Regions from separate parts of the Homo sapiens genome. Here all the other regions are linked to region 1. The links are contacts of gene promoters, found by promoter capture Hi-C in human tissues and cell types (Jung and others, 2019). All regions are on one chromosome and are shown on one strand. The core of a region is centred on a gene start or on the middle of the fragment in contact, and the rest is flanking DNA. Distances in the headings are between cores, read along the strand shown.

Region 1 (2,956 bases), core at 217-2,716:
CAGAGATGGCACCATATTCAAACTGAGGTACCAGTGGCACTGACCCCCAACAACAGAGAGGACCCAGCTTCACACTTGATCCAGCAGGGGCCCAACCACATGGTGAGATGACTTCCTCCGTGAGAGAATTCCTGGGGTCCCTCACCTCCTTCAGGCACAGCTGGCTATAAAGAAAAGGGGTGAAAGGCCCAGTACATCTCCCTGAGTCCTTTCTCCTGGGCCAGGTGGCTCAGGTGCTGCGGGATCACCCAGGGAAGGCTCATTCCTCTCGCTACAAGACGCTGACTGCGGATCAGGTGGGGAGCACGGTGGATGGTCTTCTTGTATCCTCTATCGCCTCCAGGGCATCTTGTTTCTAAACTCCCAGGGAGTCCCCTCATCTTCTACTCCACTACTCCACCAAAAAAAGGAAAATCTAAACCCTCCCTCCCCTTAAAACACATTCCGTCTCAGGAATTTAATTTCAGTGTACGTTTCTTAGAGCTAAAACTTTTTTTAAGGGGAAAAGAAATGGGCAGGGCAGTGCTGGGTGTAAGGCGACCACGCGACCGAGAAAAGGAAGAGGGAGGAATGAATAAACGCTGACACCAGCCCCCCTTGGAGCTCAGAGCCTGGGGCACAGGAGCCGGCGGGGCGGGCGAGCAGGGGCGGGGACAGCGCATTCCCAACTTTCCCTGGCCGAGCTGACGGGAGATACAGCTCCCAGGGGACCGGGAGGGACCAAAAAAGGCTGAGCCGACCTGTGACATCGGCGGGGGGCAGGAAGCGAAGCTCCCCTCCCCCTGAAAGGCGCTCGGCTCCCAGCAGGCGCCCCCGCCTGCCGTCGCCGCCCAGCCTGCGCCCCCAGGCCCGGGCACTGCGGGGAGGGGCGCCCACACAAAAGGGGGAGCGGCGGGAGAGGGGACTCGGGCGAAGCCGGCTCCGGGAGGCCTCGTCTCCCTTCCCTGCGGCGCTGGCCCGCGCCCCCCGGTCTAATCGCGCGCCCCGCTCCCGGCCCCCCAGATGCCCGCACGCCCCCCGCGCCCGGGGCCCGGGATGAGGTGGGGGCTCGGGAAGGAAGGGCGGGCGGGGACCTGCCGCACGCGGAGCTCCCGGGGAGCCGCGCCGACAGCCCCGGGAATCAAACTCGCGACGGCCCGGCCCTCCCGGCGGCGCCTGGGCAACGGGTCCCGAGAAGGTGGGGCCGCTGGGCCGGGGCCGCGGCCGGGATTGCGCGCGGGGCGCCGGCGAGGACCGCGCCCGGGGCCGGGCGGGAGCCGCGGGAGCGCGGGGGTCTTACCGGGCAGCGCCACGCGCGTCCGCTCCGCGCGGGCCGCAGGGGCCGGGCCGCGGGCCGGGCGGGGGAGGGGCTGCAATCCGCAGCGGTGGCGGCGGGGCCAGGCTCGGCGGCGGCGGCGCGGCTGGGGCGCGGGGAGGCGGAGAAAGTGAGGCGAGGCCGGCTTCCTAGCGGCGGGCGGCGAGAAATGCAGCTGTCCCTGCGCGGCTGCCGGCAGGGCCACAAGTGGGGCCGCGCGGGGAGGAGCGGGGCTGCGGGCGGGGCGGGGCGGGGGCCCGGCTGCGGCGCCCCCGGGCCCTTTCCCTATGGCCGACCCCTTTCCAGAGAGGAGGGAAGCGGACCTGGGGGTCCGGAAACCTACATGGTTGCCGGGGGTGGAGAGGGGAGCACCCAGTGAAGGCTGGAAAAATGCCCTCCGTGTACCTCCCTCCCCGGCCGCAGTGACTCCCTAGCTTGCGGGCAGGAGGGCGTGAGCGGGGTGCCTCGACCTCCCGCGCAGAGCGGGGTGCGGGGCATCCTGCCCCTCCCAGCTGCGGAGAGGGTGGGCGGAGGAGACCTGAGACCTCCGAGACTCCGCGGGGAGCTAAGAGCAGGGCTGCCCGACAGGTTCCAGGTCAGTGCCAGGAACCCAGGGTGAGGACGCACAGCTGGGGCTTGGGACACAGGTGTGGAGGAGGGGCACCTCCCTGGAATTAGGGCCCCGGAAAGGAAACCAAATCAAATGCTGAGGACACAGGAGATGGTGGGAAGGGGGAGCAAATCAAAGCTATCACTCGTCCACACCGACAGATACCACCTGCCATCTCCCATTTTCTCCTCCCCCAACCTCCCCAGCATCCCTGATCACTTCAAGGGCTGCTGAGCCCTGGGAAGATTTTCCACGGAAGAACTTGTTTAATAAATGGGAAACTGACCTTTGCTATACTTTTCCCACGTGCTTTCATTTCAGACTCCAATTTGGGAGTAGGTAGCCTAGGTCAGGTGGTGACCACCAAGCACCCTGCTACCTAGGGGATCTGAGGAGGGTGAAGAAGGCCAGATGCAAACTAAGCTCTGTCCCCAAACAACTTGCAAAGGGTCTGCACCCTCCTCCTGGAAAAGTCTGCCTTACAGACCCATTTGCCCATCTGGGCCCAGAACCCCAGGAATAGCCCCCCTCTCCCCTCCTCTGAGCGCTTGCAATTTGCTAGCCTTGCTGAGACAGATCGACACGCTCAGCCTCAGAGACAGCTGATGGTAAAAACCACAAACCAAAGTGCCCCAGACACCAATGTGTTTCCATCATTTGCATGTCAAGGGCAAGTTTCTTCAGCAAGGTGGGAAACTGGGAGGGGGAGAAACCTCAGAACCACACCCTCCTCGGGGAGGCCCAACGTTAGGTTAGCATGTTGAACGGAACTCCAGGACTGGGTTTCCAAACCCCTCTGAGGATCTCCTCTCTCCTGCTCCTCTCTCCCCACACTTCACTCCCTGGTGCATTCAATTTCCGGGGGAGGCAGGGTGCTTGAAATCCCAGAAGATGGTCTTCAGGCCCCAGGTTAAAGATTCTTAATCCGAAGGGACAGACCCATGCCTCTATACTGACTCCTGGCTCCTTTCCCAGGTTGTAACTGAGAGCTCAGGATTTGTCCGCCTGGCCAATATAGTCTAGATTATGTTATCAAGTGTATTACCTTACAC
Region 2 (2,956 bases), core at 142-2,641, 300 kb after region 1:
GGCTGAGGTGAGCAGATCATAAGGTCAAGAGATCGAGACCATCCCGGCCAACATGGTGAAACCTTGTCTCTACTAAAAATACAAAAATTAGCTGGGTGTGGTGGCATGCGCCTGTAGTCCCAGCTACTCGGGAGGATGAGGCAGGAGAATCGCTTGAACCCAGGAGGTGGAGGTAGGAGGCGGAGGTTGCAGTGAGCCAGGATCACACCACTGCACTCCAGCCTGGGCAACAGAGTGAGACTCCCTTTCAAAAAAAAAAAAAAAAAGAATGAGGTATCCATCCTCTCAAGCATTTATACATTGAGTTGCAAACAATCCAGTTACACTCTTAAGTTATTTGAAAATGCACAATTAAGTTAAATTATTATTAACTATAGTCACCCTGTTGTGCTATCAAATAGTAGGTCTTACTCTTTTTTTTTTTTTTTTTTTTTTTTTGAGATAGAGTCTTGCTCTGTTGCCCAGGCTTCCTCAGCCTCCTGAGTAGCTGGGGTTTCAGGCACCTGCCACCACGTCCTGCTGATTTTTGTATTTTTAGTAGAGATAGGGTTTCACCGTGTTGGCCAGGCTGGTCTCAAACTCCTGACCTTAAGCGGTCCACCCACCTTGGCCTCCCAAAATGCTGAGATTACAGACATGAGCCACCGCGCCTGGCCATCATTCTATTTTTTGGTACCCACCAACCATCTCCACCTCCGCCCCCCACAGCCCCTCATTACCCTTCCAGGGATCTGGTAACCATCTTTCTACTTTCTATGTCCATGAGTTCAATTGTTTTGATATTTAAATCCCACAAATAAGTGAGAACATGCCATGTTTGTCTTTCTCTGCCTGGCATATTTCACGTAACATAATGATTTCCACTTCCATCCATGTTGTTACAATTGACTAGATTTCATTCTTTTTTATGGCTGAATAGTACACCATTGTGTATATGTATCACATTTTCTTTATCCATTCATCTGTTGATGGACACAAGTTGCTTTCAAATCTTAGCTATTGTAAACAGTGCTGTAACAAATGTAAGAGTGCGGATATCTCTTTGATATACTGATTTTATTTCTTTTGGGTATACACCCAGTAGTGAGATTGCTGGATCATATGGCAGCTCAATTTTTAGTTTTCTGAGGAATCTCCAAACTGTTCTCCATAGTGGTTGTACTAATTTACATTCCTGCCAACAGTGCCAAATGTGTTCTCCACATTCTTGCCAGCATTTGTTATTGCCTGTCTTTTTTATATAAGTTATTTTAACTGGGGTGACATAATATCTCATTGTAGTTTTGATCTGCATTTCTCTGATGATCAATGATGTTGAGCACCTTTTCATATGCCTGTTTGCCATTTGTATGTCTTCTTTTGAGAAATGTCTATTCAAATCTTTTGCCTATCTTTTGATTGGATTATTAGATTTTTTTCCTATAGAGTTGTTTAAGCTTCATATATATTCTGGTTGTTAATCCCTTGTCAGAAGGGTAGTTTGCAAAATTAATATTTTCTCCCATTCCGTGGGTTATCTCTTCACTTTGTTGATTGTATCCTTTGTTGTGCAGAAGCTTTTTAATTTGATGTGATCCCATTTGTCCATTTTTGCTTTGGTGGCCTATGCTTGTGGGATAGTGCTCAAGACATTTTTGCCCAGACCAATGTCCTGGAGATTTTCCCCAATGTTTTCTTGCAGTAGTTTCACAGTTTGAGGTCTTAGATTTGTCTTTAATCCATTTTGATTTGATTTTTATATATGGGTAAAAGATAGGGGTCTAGTTTTATTCTCCGGCATATGGATATCCAGTTTTCCCAGCACCATTTATTGAAGAGACTGTCTTTTCCCCAGTATATGTTCTTGGCATCTTTGTTGAAAACGAGTTAACTGTAGATGTGTGGATTTGTTTCTGGGTTCTCTATTCTGTTACATTGGTCTTTGTGTCTGTTTCTATGCCAGTACCATGCTGTTTGGTTGCTATAGCTCTGTACTATAACTTGAAGTCAGGTAATGTGATTCTTCTGGTTTTGTTCTTTTTGCTTAGGATAACTTTGGCTACTCTGAGTCTTCTACTTTTAGTTTTAAAAGGAACTGCCAAACTATTTTTTAGAATGGCTGTACCATTTACATTCCTATCAGCAATGTATGCATGATCCAATTTCTTAGCATCCTGACGGTGTCACCACCATTTTTTGTTTTATCCTTTCTGATAGGTGTGTAGTAATAGCTCATTGTTTTAATTTGCATTTCTCTAATGGCTGGTAATGTTGAACATCTTTTCCTGTGCTCATTTGCCACTTGTGCATCCTCTTCAATAAAATACTTGTTCATATATTTTGCCTATTTTCAAATTGGACTATTTGACTTGTAATGTTGAGTTTTGAGAGTTCTTTACGTATTCTAGACACAAGTCCTTTGTCAGATATGTGATTTGCAGTGATTTTCTCCCAGTCTATAATTTGGTGGGGGTTTTTTTTTTCATCCTCTTAAGAAGGTCTTTTGTAGAGCAAAAGCTTTTAATTTTAATGAAGTTCTTTTAATCAAATTTTCCTTTCCTGGATTGTGCATGTGATGTCAAGTCTCAGAACTTTTTTCCTAGTCCTAGGTCCCAAAGACTTTCTCCTGCTTTTTCCTTCTAGAAGTTTTATAGTTTTATGTTTTACATTTAAGTCTATGATCCATTTTGGGTAAATTTTTGCATAAAGTGTGAGGTTTAGGTCAAGATGCTTTTTTAAATTTTTTCTGGCTATGGATGTCAAATTGCTCCAGCACCACTTATTGAAAGGCTATTGTTTCTCCATTGAATTGCTTTTGTTTCTTTGGTAAAAAATATTTGGGCATATTTACATGGATCTATTTCTGGGTTGTCTATTCTCTTCCATTGGTTTGTATGTATGTCTATTCCTCTCATACCACAGTGCTCAATTACTATAGCTATACAGTAAGCCTTAAAACACTTTATTCTTCTTTTTC
Region 3 (2,956 bases), core at 307-2,806, 260 kb after region 1:
GGAGGCTGAGGCAGGAGGATGGCTTGAGCCTGGGAGACCAAGGTTTACAGTGAGCTATGATCATACCACTGCACTCCAGCCTGAGCAGAAGAATGAGATTCTGTCTCAAAACAAAACGAAAACAAAAACAAAGAAAACAAATCTAATCTAATACACTCTTGGGTATGCCTTTTTCAGAGACACGTTTCACAACCTGTGAGCCCACACTCTTGCCCAGGAACAGCTCTGAACAGAAAGAGAAACAATAAAAGCAAACAGACTAGTGACCTGACAACAACCACTCTGTCCTCTCCTCCTCATTCTTTTGGTTTCCCAGATAAGGAAAACCACAAGAACACAGTTGATCTATACATGCACATCATATGCAGATTTTGCAAGCAGTCTCCAGTTTAAAAATTGTTTTTAAAAGTGTTTATATGTGTATTTAGGGTTTGGGGCACGTTTTCTCTTTTAAAAATGCCACAAATAGGACGGGCGCGGTGGCTCACGCCTGTAATCCCAGCACTTTGGGAGGCCAAGGCGGGCGGATCACGAGGTCAGGAGATCGAGACAATCCTGGCTAACACGGTGAAACCCCGCCTCTACTGAAAATACAAAAAATTAGCCGGGCGTGGTGGCGGGCGCCTGTAGTCCCAGCTACTCGGGAGGCTGAGGCAGGAGAATCGCGTGAACCCGGGAGGCGGAGCTTGCAGTGAGCGGAGATAGCGACACTGCACTTCAGCCTGGGGGAAAGAGCAAGACTCCGTCTCAAAAAAAAAAAAAAAAAAAAAAAAAAAAAAAAAGCCACAAATAGAATGTAGGTTGCCGGGCAACTCTATAACATATCAGAAGTATAGTATTTGTTATCTCACTACATTTGGCCACAATTCTGATTAGTATCATAATTAGTATTAGATGGCACATCACCACCGTAACACCCACTGGCAGTTGGCTGAGGCCTAAAAGTGGCCAAGTCTATGAGGTCCTTCCCGAGCTCGGCAGCAGGCTGATAATGAAGAAAGTTGCTTGATGTGATTCTTTGCAGGTGGACTCTGTCAAGAAAAGCCCAAAATATTCGTTACCAGACACGCAACCAGGAGATGAACACAAAGCAAGGATGGGGGAAACAAAACAGAGGAGGTAGGGTTGCCAAGGTGTGCTGGGTGCAGACAACGGAGAGGAGGTGGGTGGGTGCGCCGTCCTATGGGGAAGAATGAAGGGGAGAGGGTGTACTGGGGGCACAGGGCTTTGAGAAACTGGGAGCAACAAAGACGTGAATGGACTTGGGTAGGTCTGTAAGGGGTTCTTAGAGGCTGTGAGTGGATGGGGGTACGGATAGTGAAAGAAGTGGGGAGCCCGGAGAAGTGGTCGGGATTGTAAGCAGAAAGTGGGGACCTCAGAACACCGAGCTCAGGTTGGAATGATCTAAGGACACAAAAGCATGGGGCCTCGGGGCTGGGGCGGTGCGACTACCGGAGGCGCAAGTTGCGCACGGGGTCCCGGGAGCGATACACTGCCTCCCCGGTGTCAGTGCTCCAGACGGTCTCCGCCATGACAGCTGCGACGCGCCGCGACTGCGCCGGAAAGCGCGCCGCTCTGTTTTCCTGGCAACGGAGACGCTGGATCGGGAGGCGACGGAGGTGCTGCGCGCGCAACCCGCCGTTCCCGTCACGGCGCCACGGTCGCAGTTGGCCACACAGTGCAAGTGCAGCCCAAGCCGAACGCCCAAGAGGGCTCCGGGGTCCTACCGATCACCGCTTACCATGTATGCGATAAAAGCTCACCGAAAGCGGGACCTCGTGCGCTGTGCAAATGAGGAAACTGGCACAGCCATCAGCCCACTTCATATAGACAGATAGATGCAGAAATGATGACGGGGACCAGGTGGCCTGAGTCTTCGCCCTCTACCTTTTCCACCATGCCACACTGCCTTCCACCCAACGCGTGAAAACTTTGGCCTGAAAATCGGGTGATGTGACTGTAAGAAATGCACCCATTATTCCCAAAGGAGTCAGGGAAGGTGATGGCCCTTAGCCAGACAAGAAAATATATTCTTGGAAGACAAAAAAAGTGTCAGAAGATTTATTAGTCTTTGTGTTGATATTCACTGAGCAAAGAAAGAAAAAACAAGGAAGTCAACAGTAAGGAAGGAAACGATGTTATTATTGAACTGATTCTTACCTTGTGTATGTTAGTTTTGGATCATTAAGCCACTTTGTTACTGCACTGGCTTCCTGAAAAGCCAAAAAAGTGACATTCACAAGTCATGCTTCGTTGTACTAGCAAAGGAAGGACATGCTGTAACCTCACGTCTGGCGTCCCGGCACTTTGGGAATGTCAACATTTATCAGCCTTGTTCACATCTAGTCCTCCTCCAACAAAGTAAGCAATTGTCCCCTGAACTCGGGAATCTCATGCCAGTTTGATGATTTGGCATTGGAAGCTCTGGGTGCCATAGCCACTAGTTGTGTAACACCGACTCACCATAAATAGCACCATTTATTTAGGATCTAGTGCAGCTTGAGCACTTTTGTTTGCATTGTCCCAAATCCTTGTAGAAGCCTCTCAAAAAGGTACTTTTATTCACTTTAAAAATGAAGTTCGTGAAGGCCAGGGTTTAAAGGACTTGCTAGCTTGCAAGTGGTAAAAGTACTGGGATTCTAGCCCAAGTTCTTCTGTCTTTTGAAGCCTAACCACCTTCCAGTTTGCCTCACAGCCTCTCACCTACCAATTTATTCCATAAACGCACACATTTCCAACCTGGGAAATAATAATTTTTTTTTTTTTTTTTTTGAGACGGAGTCTCGCTCTGTCGCCCAGGCTGGAGTGCAGTGGCGGGATCTCGGCTCACTGCAAGCTCCGCCTCCCGGGTTCACGCCATTCTCCTGCCTCAGCCTCCCAAGTAGCCGGGACTACAGGCGCCCGCCACTACGCCCGGCTAATTTTTTGTATTTTTAGTAGAGACGGGGTTTCACCG

Evidence for each region. The method cuts DNA at HindIII sites, captures the fragments that hold promoters and counts their contacts. A contact is called where the count stands out against the background at its distance.
Region 2: a fragment that was not itself captured here is called in contact with the fragment with the promoter of CUEDC1 in region 1 in 1 of the 25 tissues and cell types used here (liver).
Region 3: a contact is called between the fragment with the promoter of MKS1 here and the fragment with the promoter of CUEDC1 in region 1, in 1 of the 25 tissues and cell types used here (liver).

Annotation. Positions count from the first base shown.
Region 1 is chr17:57,953,946-57,956,901 of GRCh38, forward strand. It overlaps CUEDC1 (CUE domain containing 1), which reads right to left and starts at 1,467. Exons shown (of 11, transcript NM_001271875.2): 1 at 1,280-1,467. RefSeq lists a silencer at 1,322-1,391. The HindIII fragment of the contact is 13,236 bases long and covers 1-2,956 here.
Region 2 is chr17:58,256,578-58,259,533 of GRCh38, forward strand. All of the region lies in intron 9 of LPO (lactoperoxidase), which reads left to right. Among named protein-coding and RNA genes, the nearest start is that of LPO, 19 kb to the left of the region's middle. The HindIII fragment of the contact is 4,431 bases long and covers 1-2,956 here.
Region 3 is chr17:58,217,699-58,220,654 of GRCh38, forward strand. MKS1 (MKS transition zone complex subunit 1) reads right to left here and starts at 1,557. Exons shown (of 18, transcript NM_017777.4): 1 at 1,453-1,557; 2 at 922-1,031. The coding sequence starts at 1,532. LOC105371841 (a long non-coding RNA gene) reads left to right here and starts at 1,616. Exons shown (of 2, transcript XR_934884.4): 1 at 1,616-2,361. RefSeq lists an enhancer at 1,385-1,664. The HindIII fragment of the contact is 13,166 bases long and covers 1-2,956 here.